Linked DNA regions of Homo sapiens: all the other regions are linked to region 1. The links are contacts of gene promoters, found by promoter capture Hi-C in blood cells and fetal thymus (Javierre and others, 2016). All regions are on one chromosome and are shown on one strand. The core of a region is centred on a gene start or on the middle of the fragment in contact, and the rest is flanking DNA. Distances in the headings are between cores, read along the strand shown.

Evidence for each region. Contacts are between HindIII fragments. The CHiCAGO score rates a contact against its expected background, and 5 or more counts as called.
Region 2: a contact is called between a fragment that was not itself captured here and the fragment with the promoter of MRPS9 in region 1, in 1 of 17 cell types (naive CD8 T cells). The highest score is 5.0, in naive CD8 T cells.
Region 3: a fragment that was not itself captured here is called in contact with the fragment with the promoter of MRPS9 in region 1 in 1 of 17 cell types (activated CD4 T cells); the score reaches 5.1 in activated CD4 T cells.
Region 4: a contact is called between a fragment that was not itself captured here and the fragment with the promoter of MRPS9 in region 1, in 1 of 17 cell types (total CD8 T cells). The highest score is 5.3, in total CD8 T cells.

What each region holds. Positions count from the first base shown.
Region 1 is chr2:105,036,805-105,039,671 of GRCh38, forward strand. It overlaps MRPS9 (mitochondrial ribosomal protein S9), which reads left to right and starts at 1,265. Exons shown (of 11, transcript NM_182640.3): 1 at 1,265-1,423. The coding sequence starts at 1,289. It overlaps MRPS9-AS2 (MRPS9 antisense RNA 2), which reads right to left and starts at 1,692. Exons shown (of 3, transcript NR_110603.1): 1 at 1,650-1,692. RefSeq lists enhancers at 672-881, 902-951, 1,002-1,051, 1,222-1,551, 1,305-2,247. The HindIII fragment of the contact is 6,591 bases long and covers 1-2,867 here.
Region 2 is chr2:106,203,976-106,207,146 of GRCh38, forward strand. No RefSeq gene overlaps it. Among named protein-coding and RNA genes, the nearest start is that of UXS1, 11 kb to the left of the region's middle. The HindIII fragment of the contact is 3,032 bases long and covers 1-2,957 here.
Region 3 is chr2:106,576,691-106,579,598 of GRCh38, forward strand. No RefSeq gene overlaps it. Among named protein-coding and RNA genes, the nearest start is that of CD8B2, 91 kb to the left of the region's middle. The HindIII fragment of the contact is 1,899 bases long and covers 604-2,502 here.
Region 4 is chr2:106,161,952-106,164,911 of GRCh38, forward strand. It overlaps UXS1 (UDP-glucuronate decarboxylase 1), which reads right to left. Exons shown (of 15, transcript NM_001253875.2): 3 at 2,785-2,848; 4 at 1,716-1,759. Among named protein-coding and RNA genes, the nearest start is that of UXS1, 31 kb to the right of the region's middle. The HindIII fragment of the contact is 1,504 bases long and covers 600-2,103 here.

The DNA.
Region 1 (2,867 bases), core at 15-2,514:
TTTTGGGGTAAAATATTTTGATTTTCTTCCTTGTCTTGTAATGTTATGCCAGAGTCAGGTTGGAAAGTAAGTCACCATATATAGGGTTAAGTAAAACCCATCTAATAAGAATTTATGATTTGTAGGGCATGACTCCCCAAATCCTGTAGATAGGAATCTTGGGCAAGATAAAAAAATCAGAGTTTAGTCCTCCGACCTCTGCCAATTTCTCAAGATATCTTTTGCTAGTCTAAAAGCTAATAACAAAAAGAACAACAGGATGAGCATTTTATACAAGTAAATGTATTCCATTTAAAAGATTTTTCTTTATTGTGAAATTCTGCCATTCTACCTTTTTAATGCTAAAAAGTTCTGTTTCGTGAAATGATGGTGATAGTAGACGGCATTTATTTGCTTGACAACTTTGTATGATCTCAGATTTTCTGTGTGTTTTACTTTTACTGACCCTTCAAATCTAAGTGTGTGTAAACCCTTTTAAAGTGCGTTACTACATCATTTAGTATGTGTTTCGTAGAAAGCAACCTGGGAGTTAACTGCCAGGAGCACGCAAGTTTCAGAAAGCAAGACATACTCATCTCTATTCAACAATTAATCAGTTCTGATTGGGTTTCAAGTAAGGCTTAGTACCAACGCTTAGGGAGGGGCGTGCAAAAACGAGAAAGGTAGTGTTTGACCTTACCGGTTTAAGGTTTATCCTGTGCATTATACAGTTAAGAAACAACGCAGGAGAGTGCCAGGGAACCGAGAGGGGCTTGACAGTTGCTGCAGGAGAGTCTTGACTTGGAACCAGACGAACGTGGAAAGTTAGAGGAGGGGAAAACCCCTACTAGGATAAGGCAGACAGGAATCAAGGCTTGGAGCGCATCTGGGGCCCCGGCCGCCCTGCCCAGGTGGAGGAAGAGCCGGCTCGAGGTGCAGCAAGGGGGCTGGGAAGGAAGGGCTGGCTAAAGCGCCACGTGGATGTGAGTGCCAAAGAGACTAGGAGAGCGTGGAAGTGAGTCCCGAAGAGACTGAGTTCAGGACGTGAAGAGAAAGAGGCCGAGAAAAACGACCCACCAGCGATCCTTCTTGAGGTCGACACCGAGCAGGGGTGGAGTCGGATACGCCCCGCGGACACCATGCACCCAATCAGCGACGAGCTGTCGCGGATCGCGGGACACGCCCCCTGATCCAAAGGCCCGAGAAGCTCTTGCACAGGACAGCCTCTGGAACCCCGCGCCATTAGCGCCTGCGCCGTCTCTAGGCCCCGCCCCCTCACCCCTCCGGTCCTGGAGCTCCCACAGCTAACATGGCGGCGCCCTGTGTGTCCTACGGCGGAGCAGTTTCGTACCGGCTTCTTCTCTGGGGTAGGGGTAGCCTCGCCCGGAAGCAAGGCCTCTGGAAAACCGCGGCCCCTGAGTTGCAAACAAATGTCAGATCCCAGGTAAGGCCTGGGAAGACTGGAAGCGGCTTACCTCTGCCGCGCGAGGATGTGGAGCCAGCGCGGACACCTTCCCCCAGCGTCTCGCGTGCCTTCAGGCAGGGACTCTAGGATCTTAGGTATTTAGTGGAGGTCTGAGGTTGGGGGGGAGGAGGTGGGTATTGGCGTGCAGTAGCCGCTCTAGAGGTTGTTACTTGTTTTTTTGCGGGGTGCAGCGAGGGGAACTTACCTGAAGGTAGAAGTGGAGCGACCTCCTCCTTCATTTGGCTGCTGAGCTAAGTAAGGGTCGGTGCCTAGGTCTGTGTTGGGTCCAGTCCTACCCTGCCCTGCTGTCTAGGGAGGAGGAGGGCCGCGCCAGAGAAGAATGATGGGAATTGGATTCCTGCAGGTGCCTGGAAGACAATGGAGAAAGTCACGTTGTGTAGAGGACAGTGACTTTTTGAAAGTGCCTTCAATATGCGCAATTTCTGGCTTCTTAATTTTCCCGAATCCCCCTCTATGGAAAGATGCAGGCCAGAACTTGTACGTTTCGTTTAATCCAGGGAGAAGTGGGGAGTCAACAGCTGGATGGCTGATGATGCCAGTTTACTGACATGCGATCTCAGAGCAGGAAAAAGATTTGAGAGGGAAGAAACGAGTTTAGTATGGGATTATGTTTTTAGGCATCTGGGATTTCCAGTAGGTCTACGGATAGTCAAGTGTATAGCTCAGGAGGAGAACTGATTTCGAAATGCCCTGTTACCTTGTAAATGGTAACTGAGGCCTTGTAAACAAATTAAATTACCTAGGGAGAGTGTACTGAGGAGTAGGCAGAGGGACAGGGCCCTGAAGGACAAATAAGAAATAAGAGGCCTCAAGAGATTGAGAATGAGGGACCAAAGAAGCAGGAGAGAAACCAGCCAGTGTGGTGTCATGGAAAACAGGTGAATGTTTCAAGGAGGGAGAGTGATAACAAGTACCAATTATTGCAGGAAAGTCAAATACCATACTTTAAAAACTATATTTAAAAAAAAAAACATCTTTTTGTATGTTCTTTCCTTTATATTTTAATCTAGATCAACCAGTCCATTCTATCTATTCATGTGGACATTTGTTTTTTTTTTTTTTCTTACTGGAAAATGTGCTAGAAATTTTTATTTTTTCATGCATCTCTTTGAGTATATCTTTGCTACATACGCATGATTATGAGAGGGACTATATCATACAGAGTATTTTTATTGTTGACATTTAATGTATGTATTGGGGGATGGCTAACTTTCTGTCCCTCCTGGTATCTATTCTTCTATGTTTTTTCCATGTTCTTATAATCATGCATAAACATACATGCACAGGTGTACTTTACAAAAAATGGTACCATATTTGATTGCATTTTACTTTCTGCTTTTCTCTTGTACATATGCAGTATATTGTAAAGTAGAAATCCTTCAGGGTCCCCTATTATGTTTTT
Region 2 (3,171 bases), core at 192-2,691, 1.2 Mb after region 1:
TAAATAAGCAAATGCAAGTAAGTGATTCGCAGACTCTCAGCTCATGCTATGGGAATTTTTTTCTCTTTTGGGGACCTCACTCAAGGAGTTGTCTTCTTACCCTGTTCATTACTCATTATCACTATCCATCCATGCAATACATCCAATTATTAACATTGTTCTAGAAAATAGTCTACTATTGACAAATGCTTTCAAATACATAAATTATGAAATGCTGAGGTGTTCCTGCCAATGCTAATTACTAAGGCAAAACTCCAGCTACCATTTCACTAAGATTTCCAAAGGAGTCAATTGTCCCCCAAAACTAAGCTCCTTCCTTCTGTGTTCTATGAGATCCACTGCCTTAGGGTGACTGTGAGACACAGCAGTAGCATTAGAAAGGGCTCACGCCCGCTTCTTTTTGGTAAAAGAGATTTTGTTGCTAAACATGGTGAGCCACTGAACCCTCCAATAGGGGATGAGGCTTTGAACAGGGGATGAGTTTTGTCCACTGTTAAACAGATTCCAAAGGTGCTTGGCTGCATGTTCAGGCCTTGGGGCATGGAGCTAGGATTGAGGCTCTGGTGCTGCCTGAACCCAGACATTGCAGACTCAAGATGATTGAGGGCAAGTGCATTGGAGGGTGGGGGCAGGGGGAGCGTGGGGGTGGGGGACAGGGCAGGATGGAGAGGAAGGGGGTAGGGTGGGACAGGACAGGGAGGATGAGGGCAGGGCACAGCAGGGAGGTTGTTGTTCTGCAGGGCTGGGTGAGTGTTAGGGAAAGAATGCTAATGCACCTAACCAAGAAGTATTAAGTCACAAAGTTTTGTTCTTGGTTGTGCAAAGAAGAATCACCATGTGACATGAGTCAGGTCCTCCTAGGAGTTGCCATCAGGGAGGGAATTATATGATATCCCTGAAAACCAGGTCTAAGCAAAGCATACAACACTATAATTGTCCTCTTATTTTTCTATAAAATGAGGATTTTCACATGTTCCTTATGAGTTGCTGTAGCCAAAGCCTTCTTCCTTGTGATCTGGGAAAAAAGGGTTCCTCCTGTTTGTCTTAGATCACCCTGCAGGTACATGTGGGTTGGAGCTGGTGTCACTCACTCCCAGATGAAGGCTTGGAGGTCCATGAAGGGGTGAATAAGACCAGGGTCTCATGGTTTCTTTATCCTTCTTCAGCTTTGTCTGCTTAGTTTTCAGACTATCCTGAGGGAGAATGTGGAGGAAGACAGGTGGCAGCCGAGTTCCTGACAAGGAACCCACGGGTGCGTGGGGACTTGCTTTTTCTCCTGAGTTGATTACCCTTTGCCAGCAGACGAGCACATTTCTCCTCTTGGCCTGGATCTTATATTAGTAAGGGCGTCCGGGAAGTGTTCATGCAAGTTCTGTTTTTCCAGAACTCTGGAATCCTCATAGCAGGTGAAGAACTGATCATGAGATCATGTCCTTCCCAACATGTACATTAATTTTTTCATTCTCCATTGAGGATGTCCTTTCAGGGAACATAAGTGAAGGGTTGTCATTTTCTCATCCATCCATTGCCGTGATAGGGAAATGAGTCACTCAGTTAACCATGTCAGTGGCTGCAGGGGTCTTAGGTGTGTGGTGACCACAGGTGACAGGGATGTGTGACAGCAGGTGCTGAAGGTCGGGTATGGAGGTAGGGTTTCACCAGGTGCTCAGCCTGTCAGGCCAGGCAGCTTCCACGTACGCTACTTTGTCTCTATCCTCATCTGTTTTCTTTCACAGCACTTACAACTGCCTGAACATTGTTTGTTTACTTAAATCTAGTTTATCAACCACTAGAACACGTCTTCCTGACCACAGTTTTGTGTCTTTATTACTACTCCATCTCCAATATTGAGAACAGTGCTGGGACCTCAATGACTATTTTTTTGAATAAATAAATGGATTAAATTTTTTACTAAGTGACAATACTGTTTTAAGCACTAAGCTAGGGTTTGAGACCATAGTAATAAAAATATAGCCATTTTCTTTTCCAAATAGAACCTAGATTGTTCCAATGGATCTTAATTTTATTGCATTAATTATGAGAATAAATTCCACAACCCACTGTGGAAACATTTAAATCTTCACTGCTGCTGAGACTCAGGGGCTTGGTGTCAGGGGTTTTCCTTCCTGCTCCAGGGAAGGGCCCTCAATGTCCTTGGTGTTCAAGGTGCTCTTCCCCGGGTGCCCTTCCATGCTCGCCTTGTCTTGTTGGGAGCCTGCCTTAGATCTGAAGATCACGCACAGTTCTCACACAGAATTCAAAATCCATGCAACTTTGCCCAGAGAGCATCAGCTCTGCAAGTCATTCATGATTTCCCAGTTGAAACAAGGAGCAGTGCTGTGGAGGGAAGGAAGGATTTCCCCAGAGCCCAAATCCAGGTGAGCTGCAGACAGATAGGCTCAGTGCAGGAGGTGACTGGTCAGTGAGGGACAGAACTTTGATAATGTCGAATGCAGATGACCTTGAATGAATAATATTTTTAGAAAACTATGAGAAGCCATTGGGAGAAAAATTCCATATATAATGTTATTATTTCTCATATATGTACCAGTTTCATTCACATATATTCATGTCTTCTTAGAGGTAAATTTTCACATTGTGACCTTTGCCCTGGTCCTTTCCCTTTGATGATTTTCCTTTTCATGACCTCTCCAATATTACATCTTTATTTTTTCTCTTCATTCTTGAAAATACTTTAAAATTTTTAATTTCCCCAAATGTCTTCCTAGTCACTGGTGTATTCCTCCATTTCACGTCTCTCCCATGTGAGAGCCAGTATTTGAAACCTACCCACGTGAGCCTTGTATCCTTTTCAGTGTGTTCATTCTCCTAATGCCAGTCTAGCAATTTAATTTTTTCAATTATTTTAGGCAGGCAGGGTGGCCTTTAAAAACAAGAAATGGTATCCATACACTTTCTCTGGAGGAAGGAGTCCCTCTACCTGCTTGTCAATGATAAGCTTCATGGGGGTGAACCCTGTTCCTCCAGATTAGAGACCTGGGGATGGGCTGAGTTAGGAACACACCACAGTCACATGGCTTTAATTAGAGCTGGGAGTGTGTCCCTTCATATGGTTTTGGATATTTGAATTTAGGAAAGAAATTAACCTGAGCTCAAAATTATAACCTGAATTCTTTATAAAAGGACAATTGCATAGACATGGCTGATACC
Region 3 (2,908 bases), core at 303-2,802, 1.5 Mb after region 1:
TCATAAGAAAATAGACCATACGCGCAAAAGAAGTCCCTTGAGATGATGAAAATATGACAAAAGGGCCACAAAACGGAGCGAAACTAAGTTTTTTTTTTTTTTTTTTTTTTTTTTTTGAGACAGAGTCTCGCACTGTCGCCTGGGCTGGAGTCCAGTGGCGTGATCTTGCCTCATTGCAACCTCTGCCTCCTGGGTTCAAACGATACCCCTGCCTCAGCCTCCTGAAGAGCTGGGATTACAGGTGCCCGCCACTATGCCCAGATAATTTTTTTGTGTTTTTAGTAGAGATAGGGTTTCACCATGTTGGCCAAGCTGACCTCATGATTCACCTGCCTCGGCCTCCGCAAGTGCTAGGATTACAGGCGTGAGCCTCCGCGCCCGGCCTAAGGTTGTGTTTTTTAAAAGAGAGTCCTGTCTTCTGGAGCCGCACACGCCTGCGTTTAGAGATGAAAGTGTGTCCGGAGCTGGTTCCTGCTGGTGGGTTGGTGGTCTGGCAGACTTCAAGAATGAAGCCGTGGACCTTCGAGTGTTACAGCTCTTAAAGATGGCATGGACCCAAAGAGTCAGTGGTAGCAAGGTTTATTGTGAAGAGCGAAAGGACAAAGCTTCCACAGCATGGAAGGGGACCCTAGCACGTTGCCACTGCTGGCTGGGGTGGCCAGCTTTTATCCCCTTATTGTCCCCTCCCATGTTCCATTTCCCTTCTATCAGAGTGCCCTTTTTTCAATCCTCCCTAGGATTGGCTACTTTTAGAATCCTGCTGATTCGTGCATTTTACAGAGCGCTGATTGGTGCATTTTACTCAGCACTTACTGGTGCGTTTTACAATCCTCTTGTAAGACAGTAAAGTTCCCCAAGTCCCCACTGGACCCAGGAAGTCCAGCTGGCCTCACCTCTCAAAAGCTCTGATGTCTGGGAGTTATTTCCAATCTGGGGAAGAAAAAGTGGATTGAAGTGTAAGAGAAAAAGATTGGTTCATTCACGGATGATGGGTGAAGCCTGATGATGGGCATGTGGTGTTTGCAGCATGATTGGCAAGGTTTAGTCCATGACCTCCTCCTCTTCCTAGGGTGTCCCTCACTCAGTTTCCTTTGTGGGCACCTGTGAACGATGGGCTGTGTCTTCAGCCCTCTCTCCTCTCCTCTTTCTACAGAGGGAGGTTCTACATTTTCCACGTAGACATTTCTCCTGAGCCCCCGCGTGTCATGGATGTCATGGACTCAAAAGCCCCTGGGGCATGTGTAGCTCAGGGTGGCAAGGGCTGAACACATTGACTTGTCCTTAACCGGCTCCTTCTCCTCTCTCCATTTCTACGAAGCACCTCACCATGCACCTCTTACCCAAGTCAGAAACCTGAGCCTTATCCTGGATTTGGCTCTTTCTGAATCTACGAATCTGATTGTCCCTCCAGCCTGCCTGATATGCCTCACAGGTCCCATGTCTCTCTCCCACCTTCGTGCCACTTATCCTCTGGACATACAATGGGCATACACCAAGCATCTTGCTTCACTCCACATCGTAGTTACGGTGACTTTCTCAGGTAAAAAGCTGGCCACTCTCGCACATATTCTGTGGCCGCTCAGCGCCAGGAGCATATCAACCAGGCTCGTCCCAGGGCACACGGGATTGACTTTCCCAATCTCCTGCCCACCTGCTTGGCCTCATCTTTACTACTCCTGCCCTCCTCTTTACCCCCCAGCAGAATGGAAGTCTGATTTGAAGATCGCGATTTCATTCCTATGTCACTTTGCACGTGCATTTCCCTTTCTGAAACAACTTCCCTGTTTGACAGCAAAAGCCAAGACTTTTTCTCTTTGTTTTCTCAGCATCCAGCAGAGTGTTTAATGCATATATGATGCTTTGCTAAATATTTTGAAAAGATAGATAGGAACGCTTCAGAAAACATCATGTTTATTTAGACATATGTCTTTGTTGTCTTGCCTCGCCAATCAGCTACCAACTACAGACGGTTACAGTGGTTCAATTTAGGCTTTTTTGACTTTATGATGGTGCAAAAGCAATATGCATTTAGTAAAAATAGTACTTCAAATTTGTAATTTCCATCTTTTCTGGGGCTAGGGATATGTGGAACAATACTCAGAATGGTGGGCAGGGCAATGAGCCAGATGTCCCAGTCAGCTATATGATCATGAGGGCAAATAGCTGATAATGTACAGGGTGCTATGATTTCAGATGATGTTACCTCACTGTAGGCTAATGTACGTGTTCTGAGCATGTTTAAGGTGGGCTAGGCTAAGCTATGATATTCTATAGGTTAGGTGTGTTAAATGCATTTTTGACTTGGATAGTTTCAACTTAACCATGGGTTTATCGGGATGTAACCCCATTGTGTAAGTTGGGTTGCATCTGTACTTTGAAAGTAACATTCTTCATCATGCACATAAAAACTCACTCCACTTCCAGTTCCTTTAATTCCTTAGATGACTGTGTCATTTGGAAATGAGGACAAAGTAGTAGTCATCTATGAGACCCATTGTTGGAAGCTTTCTAATTTTCTTATGAGAGTATCCATCACTTGAAAAGCTGAAATAGTATAGCATTTTTTATGGGCAATGTATGAGAAACTGCTATAATTGGCTCTAGATTTATAGCAAATAAGACAATAAATACAGCAAACTGGATTGGTTTTTAAGGCAGCAGCCATTGTGAAACAAAAAAATGAGATTGATATTTTCAATCTCAAAATGACTATGTTGTAAACTGTTTAGAGATCATCTATTATCAGACTAAAAGTCAAACAATCTGGAATTTCTCTTAGATTTTCAAAGATGATTGGGAGATGGACTCAGATGGCACCATGTGGCAAGAATTCATAAGATTACACACGCTGTTTGTAAATTGACCTTTAAATATTAGGCTTGACGGAGAGACAAGTGTATGGGCAGAT
Region 4 (2,960 bases), core at 102-2,601, 1.1 Mb after region 1:
ACCTATTTCCAGTTACATTCTTATCTTGTCAGTGTCAAGATGGTTGTTTGATCATCTTTATCACACACTGAGTCAGGAAAAGTAAGCTAGACGGAGTTCCATCAATTTCCACCGTCACGCTTTTTTAGCCAGGCCTACGCTTGACCTTCTGACACAGTAATGCAGGCACGCGGATCACCTGACTTGCTGACCAACCTGAAGGACGGAACCATTCCAGAATGAGTCACCTGCAAGCAGCCCGAGAGGCAAATGTTTGCCCTTTGCCACTATTTTCAAGGCGGTTTCACAGGTTGACAAGAATAAATTATTAGTAAATTCTTAGGATTGAATTCTTATTTGTGCTTCTCCATCCAGTTTAAAAGCACACACTCAAAGATATCACAAAAGTATCAAAGAGATTGCATAATTCTCACATGTTGAGAGCTCTTGTTTGTAAGCTATTGCCTTAGGGAAGTTATCGAATTGAGACATTTTTCTTTTCATAAATAAATTCTATTGTCTAAAGAAAATAATCACTGGTGGACAAGTTTTTAGACCAATATAGAAAATGTGTGGTGGGTTATTTCTTATTGTTCCAATTTTTCTAAAAAGAAAAAAAAAGCTTCAATTAAGATCTCTCAATTCTGCTGTCTTATCAAAGGCAGATTTTCTGGCTCCCATCCAAGGAAATATTACAAGCTGCATAACTAAAGCACAGAATCATGGCAAAAAAAATTTAAAGCACAAGTAACAACCTTATATTACTAAGGAATCTGTTAAAAATTACTGACAACTTTTGTTCTGATAAGTGCTGAAATTAACAGTTTGCTTGACTGCTCAGTTGAGGATAAGAATCAAGTGAATGACACATTTTGTTTAATGACTCTTCTCCAGTCGTATTTCCCTTCGATCATTTAATGAAAATCAAAGGAAAACTGCTCTTCATTTTTTCATTTTTGTTCTGGACTTGATAAAAGGCTCATTCAATGCTGACACACATCGTCCAAACTCATCCCAATAAGGGGAAAAAATCACATCAACTTTAATAAATGCTGTCATTTTTCTTTCTAAAATTTCTGAAGATTCAACTGCTACTCTAGATAGTTTTCCACATACAGTACGTGCAAGAGGAAAGTCCTGGAGGCTGAGGCTCAGCGGCCTCGGGAGTGCCTGAGAGAGAACCTGAGGGCAATAGTGTCCCAAAGGGTGAGGAGGGGTTCTCTCCGAAATCTGACTCAAATAAACATTTCTATCATATTACATAATTCTTCTGCCCTCTCACTTCACCTGGACTAAATTCTGGAAACCTCCTCATGAACTCTGGTGACAAAAGCAGCTAAATGACTACACATGACACACCATAGGCTCCACATCCTTATTTTGTGGTGTTTGCATATGGTACATTTCAGGCCCACTGGATTGTCCTCCTATTTTGGAATTCTATCCCACTGATCAATATATGCAGAAGTTCAAGGAAAATGTGAGGCCTGGCCTCAACTTCTATGTAATAAATTTGCAGAAATTCAGACGTTCAGAGTTTGAAGAAGGAAGATCTTAACACATCTAGATTGATTCTTCTCCCCATGTTCTATCTGGGTATTACACTCAAAGTGGGGGAAATGCGTATACAGACATTTATTTAGGTTGGCAGAGTTTGGAGCAAACAAACAGAATTAATTACTCAATTGAGACAAACTTATTTTAACTATTGACTTTAAGACAAAAAGTACACATACCTTTTTTCTAAATCTCTGATTTTCTCTCTTAGTGGTTCAACCATCTAGAACAATAATAACAAAAATCAGTTTTAAAGCAAAAACACAGTTCTCAACCCCTTTCACCCCATTCTGATGTTTCAGATAAGGCAAAACAGGTTTTAATTTCTTCTACAAATTAACTTCCAGTTTGAAATTAAGATACACCACTTGCATCACAATGCTAGAATTGAACAGATAAACTGTCCATTTGAACTCTTACTCCATAAATGCCTCGGTTTCTGAGACAATTAATGTTTTTGCTCACCCATCCTACTAGGAAGAATGTAAAAGGTGTTTCAGGCTCATAAAAACAGATCAACACTATCCATCTCTTTTTAGGAACAATCCCCTAAGCATGGCCCACAAAAGCTTAACATCTTGTTTCTGCAATTACTGTGTATACTCATGTTATCAGCTGCAGCACATAAATTGCAGGCTGTGAGTCAACCTACATCCACGTCTGTAGACACTGTGGACTCAGGCAGAAAGACAGCAACTCAAGGGCTTCCCAGGACTCCCTAAGTTGGCTTCAAATCCAAAGTAAGTAACCTCCCATCCCCTCCCCCACAGCCCATGTTACAACGGTCTGGCTGTATCTACATGTATTTAAATAGGAGGTGCATAACTGAGCATAGGTGCTAGCCTTCAGCTGGGTGGGTGTGCAACGTCTCCATCTGTGCACGTGGCCTAGCATCCGATTGGTGGCCATTGTTCTTTTCAGCACCTGTGCCAGTGAGAGGATGTTTGTACTCATCTCTATCTCCCAAAGGCAATCACTTCCCTTTCTCTAAAAAACGCTTACCTGAAAAGTCATGTAAAAGTCTAAATCCATTTTGCCTTTGAGGTAGAATTTGTTTTAATACATCAAAAATGGACCAACAGTAACAGACTGCATGTCCTCTTAAATAAGGGAGTAATTTTTTGAGACACGGTTGCAAAATCACAGAACAGCATCAAGCTGCCACAATAAGAATGACAGCACGAGCAAAGGAAGTAAAATTGACAAGTATACAGATGAAATAGATACAAAAATAGAAAAAAGACTAACCTCTTCAATCTTGCTTTCAATTTTTAGTTCACCATTTTCCTGGATAGACCTGTTGAGTAGAAAGCTATAAAACTGAGATCAACTGAAAGGCTTTGTGACTTTAAGACTGTTTCTGAATAAATTACCCTAACATAACCCAACGGATGCAGACCACCTCTGTCTCCTGCTCAAGTATC